2 separate regions of the Homo sapiens genome follow, and region 2 is linked to region 1. The links are contacts of gene promoters, found by promoter capture Hi-C in human tissues and cell types (Jung and others, 2019). All regions are on one chromosome and are shown on one strand. Each heading gives the region's core, a stretch centred on a gene start or on the middle of the fragment in contact. The rest is flanking DNA. Distances are from core to core; before and after follow the strand shown.

What was found. The method cuts DNA at HindIII sites, captures the fragments that hold promoters and counts their contacts. A contact is called where the count stands out against the background at its distance.
Region 2: a contact is called between a fragment that was not itself captured here and the fragment with the promoter of CNNM1 in region 1, in 1 of the 25 tissues and cell types used here (mesenchymal stem cells).

Annotation. Positions count from the first base shown.
Region 1 is chr10:99,326,372-99,331,387 of GRCh38, reverse strand. CNNM1 (cyclin and CBS domain divalent metal cation transport mediator 1) reads right to left here and starts at 2,032. Exons shown (of 11, transcript NM_020348.3): 1 at 428-2,032. The coding sequence starts at 2,000. The HindIII fragment of the contact is 11,915 bases long and covers 1-5,016 here.
Region 2 is chr10:98,278,321-98,283,336 of GRCh38, reverse strand. LOC124902489 (a long non-coding RNA gene) reads right to left here. Exons shown (of 2, transcript XR_007062260.1): 2 at 3,056-5,016. Among named protein-coding and RNA genes, the nearest start is that of LOXL4, 13 kb to the right of the region's middle. The HindIII fragment of the contact is 6,301 bases long and covers 1-5,016 here.

The DNA.
Region 1 (5,016 bases), core at 783-3,282:
CTCTGTAAATAGTGAGCTTTCGGCCCTGGGAGGAGTTTAAAGCAAAGGCTGCTTGTATGGGAACCTGCAGAGGTGTCTCCTGTAATAGGTGGGGAGCTATGCAATGACCTTCAAGGGCTATCTCCCACCTACACAGTATCTGACATTTGGTAGGCCTTGGAAAAACCTGGTAGAATGGAACAAATAAGGAATATGGTGCATCTTGTGAATCAAGTAGAGAGGAAAGAGGCCTGGGGCTCAATCAGGAGCAAGAAGTGAGGCAGAAGTGAGATGAAAATAGCCAGGGAGCCAAGAGGTAGAGTCTTCCTTGGGTTTTTAGTACCATAGGAGAGAAATTGCTTTGGGTACCTAGAGCCTCACGTGGTTAGGAAAGGATAATACCTTTGAAGGGGATAGGAGTTGGGGGAGAAGATAGACTACTGCTCACCCTTCTTAAACTCCTCCAGAACCGTGTCCAGTCGGGTGTCATTGAAAACACAATGCAGGGGCCGGTTGTAGAAGCGGGTGACAGTGAGGAGCGGGGTGCAGTCGTCGGGGTCCACGAAGGCCAAGTCCTTGACAAATAAAATGTCCACAATGTTGTGCCGCTGGTCACCCTCGTACACTGGGATGCGAGTGTAGCCGCTGCGCAGGATCTCGGAGACAGTGGCGAAGTCGAGCACCGCGTCTGAGCGCAGCATGAAGCAGTCTCCCAGGGGGGTCAGCACCTCCTCCACAACTTTGGTGCGCAGCTCCAGGGCACCCTGTATGATGTTGAGCTCCTCCTTCACCAGGTCACTGTAGGGGTCTGCGGCCCGCAACGTCTCCAGCAACTTCTCCCGCGTGTAGAAGGTGCTTATCTCCTGGCGCAGCGCCCAGTCCAGCAGGCGGCCCAGCGGGTAGCACACGGGGAAGGCGGCTGCCATCAGAAGCCGGGTCAGGCACACGCTGTGCGAGGCGATGGCCAGCCCGTGCCGCGAACACACTGAGTAGGGGCAGATTTCGGCGCCCAGGAATACCGCGCCGGTGCACACGAGCGCCGGCAGCCACGGGAAGTGGATCCCCTCTTCGCTGTAGTCTTCCCCGGTGCCCCCGAAGCCCGGCGGCAGCGAGGTGTACAGCCAGCCAGCCAGGGCCGCGTTGGCTCCGGCTTGGCCCAGGAGTAGGGTGCAGAGCAGATGGGTCCCCCTGCCGCGAACGGCCTGCACGCGGCGCGCCTGCTCCTGCTCGGCGGCCGAGCCGCTGTTCCGCAGCACCCGTAACTCCACCGGGTCCAGCGACAGCAGGCTCAGGCGCAGGCCGCTGAACAGGGCCGACAAGGCTAGCAGCAGGAGCGCCCCGAGCGCCCGCAGCCACGCAGGGGGCAGCAGGTCCCCGCCTGGGCCGTACAACCGCGGGCGAACGCGCAGCAGGAAGCCGCCGGCGGCGCCGTGGTGGTGCCACGCGCGCCCATCCCAGGCGCAGAGTGAAAAGAGCTTCCCGCCACCGCCCGCGCCGCCCCGCTCCGCTTCGCCCTTGCGCAGCTCCCGCACTCGCACCTGGACCAGGGCCGAGCCTGCCACGCCCCCGGGACGCAAGGGCCCCAGGACTTCCACGTCCGATGCCCAGTCGCTCTGCTCCCTGCAGCGCTGCGGTCCCGGGGGGCGAGTGGGGACCGCGCTGGGGGCCACGCCGCCACCGCCCGGGGGCTCCTCGATGAACACGAGCCGCGGAGCCCAGTCGCCGGTGCCATTCTCCCCCGAGTTGAGGGTCGGTGAGGGCACCGGTGCGGCGGTGGCCGGCGGTCCTGGCTGGAAATAGACACGCAGGAGGAAGCTGGTGCCTTCGGCGGCGCGCAGGGTGCCCCCCTCCAGGGACACGCGGCCTCCAGCAGTGTCCTCGGGCCGCAGGCCCAGCAGCCAGGCGGCGGCGGCCGGGGGCCGAGGAGACAGGGAAAAGAAGAGCAGGAGCACAGCGCCTCGGCTGCAGCAGTCCCGGAGCCTGACACCCACCGCTGCTGCCGCCGCCGCGGCCGCCGCCATCCTGCACCCAGCGCAGCTGCACGTGATACTGCAGGAAGCCGAGCGAGAGCTGGAGGGAGGAGGAGCCGGAGCTGGGAACCCAGCCGCAGGCAGGTCACCACGTGTACGCCCACTGCGCGCGTGGGCTGGTGGCGGTGGGCATTCAGACTCCACCTGGGCAGGAGGTCCCCGCTGGAGGCTGGAGGTGGCCAGGCATCACCGCACTGTGCGTAGCGGGTACACACTTCGGTATATCTGAGATGCAGCCTGAAAAGTCTGGGTTTGCAGCATGGCCTCCTACTCCAAAAGTAAGGTGCTCCTCTGCGAACTCCTACCCGGCAGTAATTCCCTGCCGGCTCCACTGCTTCCCCATTGGCCCGGGAAATTTCCCAGCTTTTCGCTTCTCCTGCCACTTGCATTCCCCCTTCTGGTCAAAAGAATATTCTGGAGTCAAGTCTTGAATATGTGAAAACTTTTAGCCTCAACTCCAGCCGACCTTTCATTATTGTAAACATTTCTGGATTATTTAAGTTCAATTCTTAGTTAAGATCCGAATGTCCATCAATAAGAAACTGTTGAAATAAGTGAAACCACTGTGCAATGGAATACTATGCGGCAATAAAAAATAATGCGGTGGATCTGTTGTATATGTGATACGGAAAAAAATCTCCAAAGTAATTGTAGAAACAAAGTAAGGTGCAGAACAGCAAGTATAATATGCTACCATTTGTGTTAAAAGTATTTATGTATAAATTTGTACACACACACACACTTATATGAGATTTATTTATTTATTTATTTATTTTGAGATGGAGTCTTGCTCTGTCGCCCAGGGTGGAGTGCAGTGGCACAATTTTGGCTCACTGCAACCTCCACCTCCCGGGTTCAAGCGATTCTCCTACCTCAGCCTCCTGAGTAGCTGGGATTACAGGCGTGCGCCACCGCGCCCAGCTAATTTTTATATTTTTAGTAGAGATGGGGTCTCACCATGTTGGCCAAGCTGGTCTCGAATCCCTGACTTCAAATGATCCATCTGCCTCGGCCTCCCAGGGTGCTGGGATTACAGGCGTGAGCCACCGCGACCCGCCGTTTACATCTTTTAATTAATTTATTTATTTTGAGACGGAGTTTCGCTCTTGTCACCCAGGCTGACGTGCAATGGCGCGATCTCGGCTGACTGCAACCTCCGCTTTCCAGGTTCAAGCGATTCTCCTACCTCAGCCTCCTGAGTAGCTGGGATTACAGGCGCCCGCCATCACGCCCGGCTAATTTTTTTTTTTTTTTTTTTTGGTAGAGACGGGGTTTCACCACGTTGGCCAGGCTGGTCTCGAACTCCTGACCTCAGGTGATCCGCCTGCCTCGGCCTCGCAAAGTGCTGGGATTACAGGCATGAGCCACCGTGCCTGGCGGGTTACATCTTAATTATAGTACAATATCAAAAGCAGGAAGTTGATATTGGTGTAATGTGTGTATATAGTTCTCTATCATTTTATCACATGTATGGATGTATGTGACCATCACTGCACTCAAAATACAGATCTATTATCACCAAGATCTGGGAGGGAGACTTTCTTATTAAATTCCTTATATTGTTTGAATTTACTCGACTATATTATTTTTATGCATTTATTTTTAAACTTTATATAGTAAAATTCACTTTTTGGTGTACTGTTCTATGAATGTTGACAAATGCATATACATGTAAACATCACAATAAAAAGTAATTCCATCACCACCACCCCCCAAATTCTCTTACCGTCCTATTGTATGTAGTCAACCCCTCCCTTCGTCTTATCCTCTGGGAACTACTGATCTGTTCTCCCCTATAGTTTTCTTTTCCGGATTATCATATAAATGGAGAATACAGTCTGTAGCCTTTTGGGTTCTCCCTTCCTTTACTAAGTTAGCATAATGCATTTACGATTCATCTATGTTGTTGTGATTTTCAGTAGTTCATCCTTTTGTATGGCTGAGTAGCATTCCATTATATGGATGTGTCACTGTTTGTTTATCCATTCAATAAAGGATATTTAAGTTATTTCCAGTTTTTAGCAATTATTAATAAAGTGGCTATGAACATTTGTGTGATGGTTTTTGTGAGAACATAAATTTTTATTTCTCTTGGGTAAATTTATCATAAGTCTGTATTACATTTTAAAATATAGTAATCCTAACTACTTGGTAGGCTGAAGTGGGAGGATCTCTTGAGGCCAGGAGTTAGAGACCAGCCGGAACAATGTAGGGAGGCCCTGTCTCTAAAAAATTAAAAATTAAAAAAAATTAGCCAGGCATGGCGACACATGCCTGTAGTTTCATCTACTTGGGAGGCTGCAGCAAGAGGATCACTTGAGCCCAGGAATTCGAAGCTGCAGTGAGCTATAATCGCATCACTGCACTCCAGCCTGGGCAACAGCATGAAACCTTGTCTCTAAAAATAATTAATAAATTAAAAAGGAAGAGTTATTTTACATACCACCCTTGGCACCTGGGTTTAGTGTAAAATCATCCCTATGTGTGAAATCTCATTTTCCGTGGCATTTGTGACATGCCATTGTCTCAGAATACACTAGATCCTGTCCACTATAAGCTGCTTTTTGCATGGGCTACTTAAGAGACAGAAGGGAGGTTTAATCTTATGAGGGAACATTGAGGCATTTATTCGAAGTATAAGGGAAGGAGAGAACTGGGGTCAACCATATGATTGTTTTTCTTCCTTTCTTTCTTTCTTTTTTTTTTTTTATTGAGACGGAGTCATGCTCTGTCACCCAGGCCGGAGTGCAGTGACGCGATCTTGGCTCACTGCAACCTCCACCTCCTGGGTTCAAGCAATCCTCCTGTCTCAGCCTCCCAAGTAGCTGGGATTACAAGAGTGTGCCACCACACCTGGCAAATTTTTGTGTTTTTAGTAGAGATGGGGTTTCACCATGTTGGCCAGGCTGGTCTCAAACTCCTGACTTCAGGTGATCCACCTGCCTCGGCCTCCCAAAGTGCTGGGATTACAGGCGTGAGCCACCCGCCCAGCTGATTGTTTTTCTTA
Region 2 (5,016 bases), core at 1,197-3,696, 1.0 Mb after region 1:
ACTGTAATCCCAGCTACTCGGGAGGCTGAGGCAGGAGAATTGCTCCAACCCAGGAGGCAGAGAGGTTGCAGTGAGCCAAGATCATGCCACCACATTCCAGCCTGGCTGACAGAGTGAGACTCTGTCTAAAAAAAAAAAAGAAAGAAAGAAAAAGGAAAAAGAAAAATAGGTAAGTAATCCTAGATATAGTAAAGACATTCACAGTAAAAAAAACGTTCCAACAAAGAGAACCACAGGCTCAGACGGATTCACTGGAAAATTCTACTGAACATTTAAGGAAGCAATAATACCAATCCTACATAAACTCTTCAGAAAATAAATGAGGAGGAAACATTTCTGCCTCTGGGAAGATGAAATAGAAGCACTTTTTTCTGTCTTTCCCACTAAGTGGGAATTTAAGTATTAATACAACTAAAAATCTTGGGCATTATATATAAAATAAACATAAGGAGACCCTTGAAGGTGGAGAGAATAAGGCAACCCAGCTAGAGACCCTGGAGCCCAAGGAACGAATGACGGTGAGTTCTCTGGGTGTTATTTTTGCCTCATGTATATCCTAGACTTATTGCTGAAGAGGCAAGCAACCTGGCTGCACCAACGTGCATAGACAAGAAAAACAAAGCGGTCAAACAAAAACCTGCTCTCTCCAGCTAAAATATCAGGAAAAGGGCAGGTTAGCAAGACAGAAAATGTTCAGATAATGACTGCTCTACTCTAGCCAGACATCACAGAAAAAACTATGGCTCTGTCCCCTACCCCCATCCCTGGCCAACACACATGTACACACACAGAAACACACACACACACACACACACACACACCAGCAAAGATCAGGCAATGAGTCTGGACCTCCATTCTTTCCCAGCTATAACAGGCACCCAGTCCCTCCACCATGGTGGTATCAGAAAAGGTTGAGTAGGGAGCTGGGACTTCCATTCCCAGCAGGCAGTAATGAGCCTCTCCCCACCATTGATACCCTTGATAGTATCAGTGGAGCCTAATTTCCACTCCTAATCAGCAGCAATAAGGCAGTCCTTCCCCTCCTCACCAGGGTGGTGTCAGATAAGGTCTAATGGAGGGTCAGGACCTTCACTACCACCCAGTAAAAATGAGGCCACCCCCTTCCTGTGGGGTCAGTGAAGGCCATGTAAGGAATAGTGACAAGAACTCCTACTCATCCTAGCCAAGGAAGTGTCAGGGAAAGCATAGTAGAAAGCCAACCAGCCATTCCTACCCAGGAGTAATGAGAAGCTCTCCCCCTCATGGGTCAAGGGAGGCTGGATGGGGAACCTGGACTTCTACCTCCACCTAGCAGTAACAAATGATGCCACTCTTCCCCTGATGGAGCAGTATCAGAGAAAGCCAGTTAAAATAAAAGGTTTAAACAATATCCAAAGTGTCCTAACACCCAAAATGTCTAGGTTTTGATGAAAAATCACTCATCATGCTGAGAACCATGAAGCTCTCCAACTAAATGAAAAGGACCATCAGGAGATACTAACACTGAAATATCACAGATGTTAGAATTTTCTGACAAAGATTTTAAAGCAGCCATCATAAAAATGTCTCAACAAATGATTACAAACACAGTTGAAACAAATAAAAAAAGAAAAACAGTCTTAGCAAAGAAATAAAAAGCCTCAGAGGAGGAAAAATAGAAAATATAAAGAAGAACCAAAAGGAAATTTTAGAACATAAAAATACAATAACCAAAATTTGAAATCTCAATGGATGAGCTTGAGAACAGTATATAGGAGACAAAGGAAAGAATCAATGCATTAAGAGATAGAGAAATAGATATTAACTAATCTAAACAATATACAGAAGATAGACTTAAAAAAAAAGAAGAAGAAGAATGAGCAAATCCTCAGGGAACTGTAGGACTATAACAAAAGATCTAACATTCACCATTCTTGCCATCAGACTCCTGGAAGCAGAGGGGAAAACAGGGCCAGAAAAAGCATTTAAAGAAATAGTTGCTGAAAATTTTCTTAATTTGGCAAAATACGTAAACCTCTAAATTCAAGAAGATGAATAAATCCCAAATAGGATAAAGCCAAGTATCTCCATACCAAGATACATCATAGTCAGTGTTCTGAAAACCAAAAACAAGGAAAATTATTGAAAGCAATGAGAGAGAAATGATACCTTACCTATAGGGGACAACAATTTGAATGACAAAGGATTTTCCATCAGAAATCATGGAGGCCGGTAAGAAATGGCACATTCTCAAGACAGAAAATAACTAAAAGAAAAAACTGTCAACCCCAAATTCTATATCAGTCAAAAAAGTCCTTCAGGAATGGAGGGGTAATCAAGATATTTTCAAGTGAAGTAAAACAGAGAATTTGTTGCCAGGGGACCTATCCTAAAAGAATGGCTAGGAGTTATTTTCTAAACAGGGAGGAAATAATAAAAAGAAGAAATGTTGGAATGTCAGAAAGAAAGAAAAAGAAACAGAAAAGTAAAGAGATGAATAAATACCCATTTTCCTTCTGTTCTTGAGCACATCCATTGAGATTTCAAATTTTGATTACTGTATTTTTATGTTCTGAAATTTCCTTTTGGTTCTTCTTTATATTTTCTAATTTTTTCTCTGAAGCTTTTTATGTCTTTGCTAAGACTGTTTTCTTTTTCATTTGTTTCAACTGTGTAATCATTTGTTGAGACATTTTTATAATGGCTGCTTTAAAATCTTTGTCAGAAAATTCTAACATCTGTGATATTTCAGTGTTGCTCTCCCTATACATAACTAGTTGACTAGTTGACTCCCTATATATAACAATATAGAGAGGTTAAAAGTAAATGATAGAAAAAGACATATCATGCAAGCATTAATCAAAAGAAAACAGGAGAGGCTATGTTATAATCAGATACAGTATATTTCAGAGCAAAGATAATGACCAAACACAGACAGGGACATTACATAGTAATAAAAGGGTCAATCCACTAAAAAGACACAGCAGTCCTAAATATGTATGTGCAGACCACAGACCTGAAAAATACATAAGGCAAAAACTGACAGAACTGAAATAAAAAATAAATAAATCCACAATTATAGTTGGAAACATTAACATTCCTCTTTTAATAATTGATAGAACAACTAGACAGCAAATCAACAGGATATAGAATTCAACAACACCATCAGCCAATAAGATCCAATTGACATTTTTAGAACACTTCACCCAACAACCCAATAACAGCAGAATACACATTATTTTCTTTTTATGTCACGCATTTTTTTCCATAGGTTATTGGTGAACAGGTGATGTTTGGTTACATGAGTAAGTTCTTTAGCTGTGATTTGTGAGATTTTGGTGCATCTATCACCTAAGCAGTATACACTGCTCTCTATTTGTAGTCTTTTATCCTTCACTCCCTTGCCACGCTTTCCCCCTGAGTCCCCAAAGTTCATTGTGTCATTCTTATGCCTTTGCATCCTCATAAGCTTAGCTCCCACTTACAAGTGAGAACATACAATGTTTGGTTTTCCATTTCTGAGTTACTTCATAATAGTCTCCAGTCTCATCCAGGTTGCTGTGAATGCCATTAACTCATTACTGTTTACAGTTAAGTAGTATTCCATCATATATATATATATATATATATATATATATATATATATATATATATATATATACACACACCACAGTTTCTCTAACCTCTTGCTGATCGACGGCCATTTGGGTTGGTTCCAGGTTTTTGCAATTGTGAATTGTGCTGCTATAAACATGTGTGTGCAAGTGTCTTTTTCGTATAATGACTCCTTTTCCTCTGGGTAGATACCCAGTAGTTGGATTGCTGGATCGAATGGTAATTCTACTTTTAGTTCTTTAAGGAATCTCCACACTGTTTTCCATAGTGGTTGTACTAGTTTACATTCCCACCAGCAGAGAATACACATTATTTTCAAGTGTCCCTGGAAAGTATACCAAGTTAGACCGTGTCCTGGACCATAAAACAAACCTAACAGGCTGGGCACGGGGCTCATGCCTGTAATCCCAGCACTTTGGGAGGTCGAGGCAGGCAGATCACGAGGTCAGGAAATCGAGACCATCCTGGCCAACATGGTGAAACCTCGTCTCTACTAAAATACAAAAAATTAGCTGGGCATGGTGGCGTGCACCTGTAGTCCCAGCTACTCGGGAGGCTGAGGCAGGGGAATCGCTTGAACCCAGGAGGTGGAGGTGGCAGTGAGCCAAGATCACACCACACTGCACTCCAGCCTGGTAACAGAGCAAGACTCTGTCTCAAAAACAAAAAACAAACAAAACAAAACAAAACAAAACAAAAACCTAAACAAATTTAAAATAATTTAAATCATACAGAGTGTGTTATCTGACCACAATGGAATCAAATAGAAATCAATAAAAGAAATATAACTAAAAAACATCCAAACACTTGGAAATTAAACAACAAACTTCTAAATAATTCATGCATCACAGAAGAAATCTCAAGGGAAATTTTAAAATGCTTTGAAAATGAAAATACAACATATCAAAACTTGTGAGATAGAGATAAAGCAGTGTTGAAAGGAGAATGTATAGCACTAAATACTTACATTAAAAAGGAGGGAAAGTCTCAAATTAATCATCTAATTTCCCACTTTAAGCACCTAAAAACACAAAATAAACAATAAACACAGTTTTAACAGAAGAATGAAATAATAAAGATAGGAGCAGAAATCAGTGAAATTGAAAACAAAAACAATAGAGAAAATCAATAAAACAAAAAGCCAATTCTTCCAAAACATCAGTAAAATTGACAGTCCTCTATCAAGACTGACAAAGAAAAAGAGAGAAGACGCAAATTACTGGTATCAGGAATGAAGTAAGGGATATAACTAAAGACCCTGCACGCATCAAAAGGATAATGAAAGAGTGCTATAAATAACCCTACAGACATAAATTTGACAACTGAAGTGAAATGGACCTGCAGGTAACATCCATATATAATGGTCAAAGACTGAAAGCTTTTCCCTTAAGATTGAGAGCAAGATGGGGACGTTCGCTGTCC